Regions from separate parts of the Homo sapiens genome. Here region 1 is linked to region 2. Evidence: promoter capture Hi-C in human tissues and cell types (Jung and others, 2019). All regions are on one chromosome and are shown on one strand. The core of a region is centred on a gene start or on the middle of the fragment in contact, and the rest is flanking DNA. Distances in the headings are between cores, read along the strand shown. Region 1 overlaps BABAM2 (BRISC and BRCA1 A complex member 2). Region 2 holds the start of MRPL33 (mitochondrial ribosomal protein L33).

Region 1 (4,748 bases), core at 28-2,527, 140 kb before region 2:
GTACAGTGTTATTTTATAAGAAGTAATTTTTATACTAAACACTACTAATTTTCCAATGAAAATATTCCTGTAAACTTTTTAGGCCACTGTTTTTATGCCTTGATCCAAAACATGTCCTAAATGCTGCCTATTCTCTGAACTCTGGGGCTCATATTTTATATTATTTGCATACTATTTATCTAAATCCCATAGACATTCCTGATCCATATAGGGAAGGCCTAAGGAGTATTTACCTTGGCATGCTCCAATAGCTCTGATTCTCAAGGGAATGTACTAGCAGAGCTTTGATCTCACCCTGATTAGCTCTCATGCTACATGCTTTATTTATGTTTGTATCTCAACAATGCCTCACACTTACTTGGTGCTCAGTACATGCTTAACCTATCTAAAAAAATAAATTTGAATGAATATGGAAAGCACAAAAGCAGAGTAAAGGAAAGAATAGATGGAAAACCAGTGGAGATGGGGAGATAGGGAGATGGGGAGAAGAAACAAAAAGAAAATGAAAAAGTAGAGAGAGAGAATTGTAGTAGGAAACTGATGACAGGGTAGAGCCAAAAATAGAGAATTAGATAAAGAAGAGTGGGGAAGAAAGGAAAAGGAAGAATTAATAGATTCTGAAGTGTCATTAAAGGATTCCCTTTCCTGTTACTGAAAAGTGCTTTCTAAAGATAGAAAAAAAACGTTTTTTATATCTTCAAATTCTTATATTTAAATGATTATGAAAAGACTTAGCATCTGCTATATGAGCATATCTGGAACTACAGGGTAATGGGATAAGTGTGCCATCCACGTATTTTTGGTTGTTAGGTAGTTTGAAAGGATTTCGTTCTTAGATTGCGCTTGAGATGCTACTGTTATACACTATAAATTCTAAAGCCTTGTGCAAGTTAAATAATCTCTCTCGTCTTCAGTGTTCTCATTTGTAAAATAAGGATAACAGTCATGCTCCAGAGAGCTGTTATGAGGATCCACTGACTTGGTGCACATAAATAAAGTATTTAGAACAGTTCCTGGCACACAGAGAGCACTTGCTGTCACGAGTATTCAAAAGTACAAATTGCAAAACCAAAAAATAAGGAGGAGGAGAGTCTATCTCAAACACTATTTTCCTTAAACCCTTTACTTCACTGGGGCAATAATTTTCTGAGCTAAAAACCTCAATTGACCTCCTCACCTCTTCACCGGGCTACTTCATTTCTTCATTCCACAGACAAAAATTCTCATGGGGGTCCAACCATGAAAAGACTTAATCAGAGCAGTAAAATAATTTTCCAGTGTCCTAAAGCAAATCTAATGGAGCCCATCATGCCTCTCATGTTACACAGCAGAAATTTACAGGGAAACAAAGAGAAGAATATCAAGATGGGGCATGTAAATTGGCTGCAGAGCAAGCAGAGACTAGACAGAGCCATCAGAGAAACAAGGACAGGAAGCATCTAGTCTAGGCCAGAGGCTTTCAAACTTTTTTGACACATAATAAGAAATTTTTATATCACCATTTTATATCACCATCAGTAGAGATATCTGTACAGAGTAATATTATATATGCATATGTGTACATATATCTGTGTACGTGTTCATATATAAATTGAAAACAAAATTGTTAAGCAATGATACTTAGCTTTATTACATGACGTGTACTTTTGTTCCATTCTCTTCTGTTTTTTATGTAAATCAAGGCCCTCTAAAATGATTTCATAACACACCTAAAGGTCACAGCTATCAGTGGTTTGTAACCCACAGCTCTGTCCAGTACAATCTCACAGAAGGTAGCTTCCTGGAAAATGAAGATAAAAATACTCAACCCTACACTTGGTCAAAACTATTCCTTGAACACTTCATTCAGTTCTAGGTGTTACACTTTAAGAAGTATAGAGACTAACTGGATCACATTCAGAAGAAGCCAAAAAAGACAGGGAAGGACACAAATCCATGATAGCAGCAAAGGCTACATGTTAGCCTACAGAAGAAAGAACTATCAAACATGATAGCTATCTTCACTAACATGCAGGATCAATTAAGCTTGTTCTATATTGTGACAAGAGCTAGAAGTGGCAAGGCAAAGGGTTTCAGGTCAATGTAGAAAAGCACTATGTAACAGTATTAGCTGCCCAGGGAGCTGTGTTGGGACTCATGGAGCTTCCACATGACTAGAGATACTTACAGACAGCCTGAACAGTCACTTGGCAGAGAAGCATTAGAAGGGGTTCATAGATCATATGGTTAACATTAGAGTGTAATGCTTTCCATTCCTGAAATTCTATAATTCTGGTGTAGATTAAAACAATGTTATACTTTAATATGACTACTAAAGCTAACACTAGTTCTTTATTAAGTTTTTAATAAGAAATGAATTCTACCATGAACCACATGAAACAAAGTTGAAATGGTAAATGATATTTTCTTGTAACAAGAGAATGTAACAAAAATTGGCAATGTGCCTATCATAGTCATTAAAAATCTTCATCAGTTACAATTAGAGAAAAACTGAAGTGTTACCCAAATCACTGGCATAGTGTTTAAGACGTTCAACTTAGAAAATATAACTACATTACAGCTTTAAGAAGCAAACATCAAAAAAAGGTGATCTTTAAAATGTACAGAAATAAGAGTGTTTACAAAAGAAGATTGTATTATAAACATTCTCTCCTTGCCCAAAAGCCATTCTTTGGTGTGTGTAGATTTTATGTGCATTTTATACGTATAAAATATACGTGTAAATTCTCTCCTTACCCAAAAGCCATTCTTTGGTGTGTGTATATATATGTAAAGCATGGACAAAGTAACAATGTCCTCTGATTTTTTACTGATCCAACTAACTGAAAATTTGAGTTATCTTCAGAATAGTTTTTATTTGTATAACCATCTACCATATTTGTTTTAAAAAACAGTATCTCCAATTATCTAACATGTAGTTAGGAATTACTTATCAATAACATACTACTGTTGCCCCTCTGAGATAGAATTCTTAAGAAGGCCAACTCCTGGACTGTTAGAATGCAGAAATCTTTCTAGAATCGTGCTATTCAAAGAGAGCAGGTCCATGGACCAGTTCTGGTCTGTAAATTATTACTAATCCATAATAAGAAAAGTACAGAAAATGAGATAAGAATTTTAAAACTTTTACAGCAATGTGTAAGAATAAATCTGATGAATCTACTAATAAAAGAGTCAAGCCTTGTATTTCATGTCTTTTTCATTTCACTCTTCTAGCAATTCATTTTTATATTTTACAAAAGTATCAGCTGGTGACCAGCTACATTTTTTTTAATCTGTTCTTCCATCAAAGAGTTTGAAAAACACTTTTCTGAAGAATCTTTAGATGCTGAAGGTCCTTGGATATGAAGATAAGCTGCTTTACTTTGATGTCTTCTAATCTCCCTATTCATCTTGGTTTTCCCACAACAGTAACAAACATTAATTTATTTCTTTCCAAGTGTTCTTTTGATATCTCTACTAAGTTGACAGCAACATCAATATAGTTCACTGCCCAAAATTTATCATCAGGTTATCTGTCTGACTGCTCAGAACCTGTAACACTATTTCATTTCCATCCAGATGTAGCTCCAACATATTCTTGGATTCATTCCTTGCAAGAAGATATTAATAAATTTGACAAGCCAGTTTGAAGGGGTCATCCAATCTTGCAACATGACTGCTGGCATAATCTGTGGCAGTCTATCCTTTGGAACTTCTAAAGGTAGTATGGCTCAGTTTTAAATCCCAGGCCTTCTAAAGAGATCATCTAAAGTAATGGTCTCTCGCGTCCTGAATTCCTGCCAATCTACCTATAATTCCAATCTTCCATTTGAACTATATTGGTTCTCAGAATCCTTTTCTGACTTACATACTCTTTTAATTTCTTAAGTAAATACATACAAAGATAGATATAATAAACATATTTATAAAAACCTGCCAATGACAATTCCAAAAGATACTTTTATGATGCAAAAACATGATAAATACTATTCTTTAAAAATTAAATACATTGTGCTGTGCTGTAAGAAATTATGCCACAATGCCAAGAATTATATCACTAGTTTTAGTTAAGATTTGCAAAGTCATTCAAGCTTCCAAATCCTCAATAACTTTAATAATGGAAAAAAAAAAAGAATAAGGAGTCTGCGAATGTAGGTCAAAAAGCAAATCAGTGACAGACTTAAAATAACTATATGTGTTTAATTTCTGCCCCAGTTCCAACAATGAAATTGTATTCCCTTTCCATACCCTAGTAATTGTTCAGCATTCTTTCCCAAGGTGGGAGACTGAGACTCCACAACCTTGGTTCAATGTTTGTATCTCCTAAGGCCAGTTTCTGGAATTAGGCATGGTTAAACAATGTGACAGCACAGAAGAATGGCTCTTTTCTTTGAGTGGCTAAAAGCTTGGGGGTTAGTGGGTATAGTGTAGGCAAAGTAGTGGTGTAGGTTTTGTGAAAAGAAGAAGAAAAGGAAAAATACTTGGAGGAGGCACGTCCTATTCCTATTCTATCTCAACATGATCTGGTTTTTATTTTTTATTATTAGATTTGTTTCAAATCATATAAATGGCTGCTAGTGGAAAACAGATCAGATCTAGAACAGTTATGAAGAGTCTAGTTAGGACTGGTTAGGAAAAGAGATGGAGTGCTGACAGTACTGAGAGAGAGAAATGGATGAACTACAGGTCAGACAGCTTCTGAGAGGAACTGATGAGGCTTGAAGAGAGATTTGCATTTCAAGAAGTAATGATACCTTGAAGTCCAT
Region 2 (4,715 bases), core at 2,088-4,587:
ATAGAAACCATATTCCTTTAACTTCTATCAGGAACCAAATACTAGCCACTGTCGAACAGATGATGCCAGGACACCATACCGTCCCCTTCTTAAGACACTTGTCTGTTTCCAGAACACTACCACCTATTCTCTTTACATAGCTGGTTTCTCACCTTCAGGTCTCGGTTAACTATCTCCTCCTGGAGAGACCTTCCCTGATTTAGCCATCTAATGTGACTTTCCCTACCACTCTCCAACTTCATCCTACACCTCAGCATCCTGATTGTTTCTCTCACAGCACTTATAATTTGTCATCTTTTCTCCCCCTCTCAGACTAGACTAAGTGCCAAGAGTACAGGGACTTGTCTTGTGTCCTGGTGTATCCCAGCACCTGGGATGTTAAATAGCATCATAACAATCATTCAATACCTATTTACTAAATGAATGCTAGTGTCAGAGGCTAAAAAAACACCTCCAGAGAGTTCAGATGTTCAGCCTACAAAGGGGGCAACAGGCCTTGGAAGCATTAACCTCCCCAGATCTTACCAACTGGATCATAATGCAAAAGAGTCAGTTTTTCCCGCAGTCGGTTTCTCTTGGTGTTGAAGCAGAAACCTGTCCCAGCTTCGCTCACCATTCTCACCAGAATGTTTCTAAGATTAAAAAGTACGCTGTTATGTACGAGCTGACGAAATAAACTAAAATCAGTCACAGGGGGATGGCACATTTTGAGAACTCTGTAGGGTAATATTAGTTGTGAGATATCACTTGGCCCTAAAAGGTTCAGTTGTAAGACAGCCTAAGTTTTCCATGAAACAGTTTCAATGGTTTCAAATCTCTAGGATTTGCTCCACTACACAGAGTTACTTCGCAATGACCTAACCAAAACAATAAGAACAATCAAGCCACATTGCGGGACTAGCCTCAGACATCCACCCTTCACGAGGAGCAGAAGTCAGGAAGGGGAAAATATCAAAATACTGGTAACCACAGCTGGCTAGTGAGGAAATTGTAAAGATCGCTGTCTCAGAACAGCCCTCTCTTCCAGGGCATAAATGATTATATTCAGGAAGGGACAAAATAAAGAGACTAAAGCTTTTAGTTTGCTAATGCGCAAAACCTTGTGCCCCTTCATATTTCATTTAAGTTCCACTCATCCAAAGCAGAAAGTCCATGTTTGCCTCACCAGATCTTTTAATACCTGTACTGTTTGTTATTTTTTCATGTGTCTTGTCTCCCCATGTAGACCATGTTATTTTATTTCTCATGTAATTCCAAAACAACCTGGAAGCATCTAAGACTATATTACACACCACTGCATTGCTTTCAACATTCAGCACAGTGCCTCATAAGAGGCATACAGTATTTGTTTGTAATTAAGATAGACAATAATTATTCAACACAGATTCAACAAATATTAAGCACTTACTCTGTGGAAGGCACTCTGGGAAATACAAAGCTCTACAAGTCTATGTCTATGTCCTCTAGGAGCTAACAGTACTGTATGGAAGGTGAGTTGGTACATGAGGTCAATCAGGCAAGACATATATGAAATATGTCACAAGGGTAGAAAGAACGAGAGTCAGAATATACCTCTACAGAAACCAAAGGCAAGAGATTCCTATAGATCCCTGGGGCAGGGAATTTTGACATAAATAACTGGACTGTGGCGAAAGCTACGTGAATCACTGAAAGATACTGGGAGGGAAAGCGCTAACATACATGTTTTTCATTAACGTTAATCCAAAAGACTAGCTTTAAGGATTTTCAATGTCTTGAGTTGCAAGGAAAAGCTGCTTTAGAACCTCCCTATTTTTACCACAAAATCTTCTGTTATTGTCTACAACATTTATTTTGAAATACAAGTTTGGTAGTTCTAGTCTCTCTGGTACAGCATGGAATCTTTAATCTTGGCTATTTTTGAAATGCTTATACCATGAATGCAAAGGATTACAAAACTCATTAAAACAGACTATGATTTAATCAAAGCAGAGTTTGTTCTTCTGGATTCCCGTAGTGAGCTCCAGACACATGGCCCCTGGTCCTCGATTTGAGGAAATGGAAATATGGTGGTAGTCCAAATACAGCACAGCCCAATGGTTTGTTTAGAAACAGACAGTGAGCTCACAAATCCTGGGACTAGAAAAGCAGCAAAGGTTCCTTCAAGTATTTCAATGCTCACAGAAGTAGCTCAGTTCAGCAGGAGGGAAAATATTTTTGAAAGAGTTCATAAAGAAAAAATAATCAACTAAGTAATCCACAAACCAACTCTTAGGAAATCAAGGCCCAATGCTTAATTTCATATAAGGATGTACTGGGAGCAGCTAGACTAACAAATCCAACATAAACAAGTGACGTTTAAAAAAGGAAAAATCTTTACTTACTTTGACTTGCTCTTGGCAACTTTTTTGTAGACAGGAAGGGTTGGAAAAGAAAATAAAAATATAAATGTATTCTCTTTCTTATGCAAAGTTCATATAAATATCAGTAATAACCAAAAATATTTAACTTATGAAATATGCCATGAGGTGTCACTCAAGTAACTATTCCCTATCTATTAGGGATCCCCTTAGGATTTTATAGAAGGAAGGTTAAAAGATCCAATCAGACCAACACAATTCTAGATTTAATATTTTGCATAATTTCATGACTGTTGGACTGGCTACCTTTTAAATCTTTCTAAAGTAATACCTGCTCCATTTTTTCCCTCTTCTAAGGTGCAAGTATTCGCGCTGCAGCAAGCTTCTTGTTTGACAAGTTTAACCTTTGCAAATTACAACAACCATCACATGTGGTGAAAACCAGATACTAAATCTAACTGGGAAGTCAGCCAAGGGTAAAGAAGAGCACTGACTCGGGAGCCCGAGGACTTCTTTAACTGCCCTGCCGCATTACTCAGGCAATTCATTGCCCCTCTCGGGAGCGGTTTCCTTATTTTTAGAGTTCGAAATAGGTGGGCTGCAAATTCTGAGGTCCTTCGGACAAAGATTCTCCTAACACGGGCTGGAGAAAAACGCCCCACAGCCAGACTCAACGGTCCGTGAGGACGGCAATTGAATCCAGACACCGCAGACCCCTTCTCAGGCACCCACAGGTCCGCGCAGGGAGGCGCGCCGCGGGGCATGCCGGACGCTGTGGTCCTGAAGGCCTGGAAAAGTACGCAGCTGCAGCTTCCCGTCCTGTTCGCACATCCTTCCCCGCATCATTCCGGGGCCCTGCCTGTCACGGCCCCCTAACCCTCGCCGTAACCCCTACCGGCGTCTCCAGCCCCACTTACAGAAGACCGCGGAGAGGAACATGGTGACCACACCTGGGCAGTCTCCGTCACCGGCCAAAAGGCCCCCAACCAACAACAACTGCTTCCGGGGCACGGCCCGGTTCTGGAAGAGGACATCCGGCAGTCGCCCGAGGCCACGCCCCCCGCCTGGAACCTGCCTCCAGTCGTCTGGCTCGTTCCTCGGTTTCTCAGAGCGAGTGTGTTTTGCTTTTGTCGTGCTGGAGGTTGGAATCCTCATCATTCTGGAAAGGGATTTACAGCTCAGGGTTCGCGCCCCGGCCCTGACTCCTATTTCTGGGTCAAGTGCTTTCAGCGTTAGGTGCTTTCCATATTTGTTTCACGAAATAATCGCAACCACCTGCATTAGACCCACAAGAACAACTGTGTATTGTACTTCGGCCGCTCCAGCGTATCAGCCCCTCGCATATTTTCTTAAAATGTTGCCTCCCCCGACCCAACTCCCTCTCCGCCTGGTTAAGCCTTACTCTCACTCTTCTGAGTCCCTTCGGCATTAAGAACCCCACCTTTCCTTAGTTATCCCAATCTCTAGGAGGGCAGGACCCTTTGCATCTCAAACTTCTGTATCCAAACACCTAGCACAGTTCCTGACATAGAAGCCAAATAACAGATTGAGAGCATTCACATCACGTGCCTAATATCACAGAACTACCAGGTGGCAGAGTAAGAATTTAAACCTAGATTTTATCTGACTCCAAAGACTCATGCCTTTCCCAGTAGACATTGGGACCTACCAGTTTGCAATCATTAATTTTTCATGGCTCTGTAAGGAACCTGGGCTCCTCTAACACCAAGGACCTCGTCAGTAACCTCATTTCGCAACTAATAATCAGGACTTTTGGATTTTTTTCCTAATCCGTGATTTGTATCTACATATGAAGTCTTACAGATGTGAAATAAGATTTAATCGCATGGCTCACGCCTGTAATCCCAGCCCTTTGGGAGGCTGAGGCAGGCAGATCACTTGAGGTCACGAGTTTGAGACCAGCCTGGCCAACGTCGCGGAATCCCGCCTGTACTAAAAATACAAAAATTAGCTGAACCCGGGAGGCGGAGGTTGCAGTGAGCCGAGATAGCGCCACTGCACTCCAGCCTGGGCGACAAAGTGAGACTCCGTCTCAAAAAAAAAAAAAAAAAAAAGTAATAAAACTGTTTTAAAGAAAATTCAGCTCTCTGTGCCATCACAAAGAAGATGAGGAGGAAAAAAATCAGCTCTCCATACAATACAATTCAATTTTTTAAATTAAGACCGTCCTTCTCCTTAGTACCTATAATACTTTTTTTCCTTCTAATCATTCTTGATATTTATCTTCCCATAACCGGACTCCAGCTACTGAGTACCTTCCAGGTGCCGAAATCCTTCCTTACCTTGCATTGGCAAAAAAGAGCTTCAGATGTTCAAGAGGATAAGGTTTCTTATATTTCCTTTAGAGGATTTATA

The links. Contacts are between HindIII fragments. The study calls those that stand out against the background at their distance.
Region 1: a fragment that was not itself captured here is called in contact with the fragment with the promoter of MRPL33 in region 2 in 1 of the 25 tissues and cell types used here (aorta).

The regions. Positions count from the first base shown.
Region 1 is chr2:27,911,614-27,916,361 of GRCh38, reverse strand. The region is part of intron 2 of BABAM2 (BRISC and BRCA1 A complex member 2); the gene reads right to left. Among named protein-coding and RNA genes, the nearest start is that of BABAM2-AS1, 23 kb to the right of the region's middle. The HindIII fragment of the contact is 8,075 bases long and covers 1-4,748 here.
Region 2 is chr2:27,770,341-27,775,055 of GRCh38, reverse strand. MRPL33 (mitochondrial ribosomal protein L33) reads right to left here and starts at 3,337. Exons shown (of 4, transcript NM_004891.4): 1 at 3,257-3,337; 2 at 2,364-2,382; 3 at 526-632. The coding sequence starts at 3,278. RefSeq lists enhancers at 3,156-3,285, 2,526-3,342, 3,576-3,695. The HindIII fragment of the contact is 4,142 bases long and covers 1,899-4,715 here.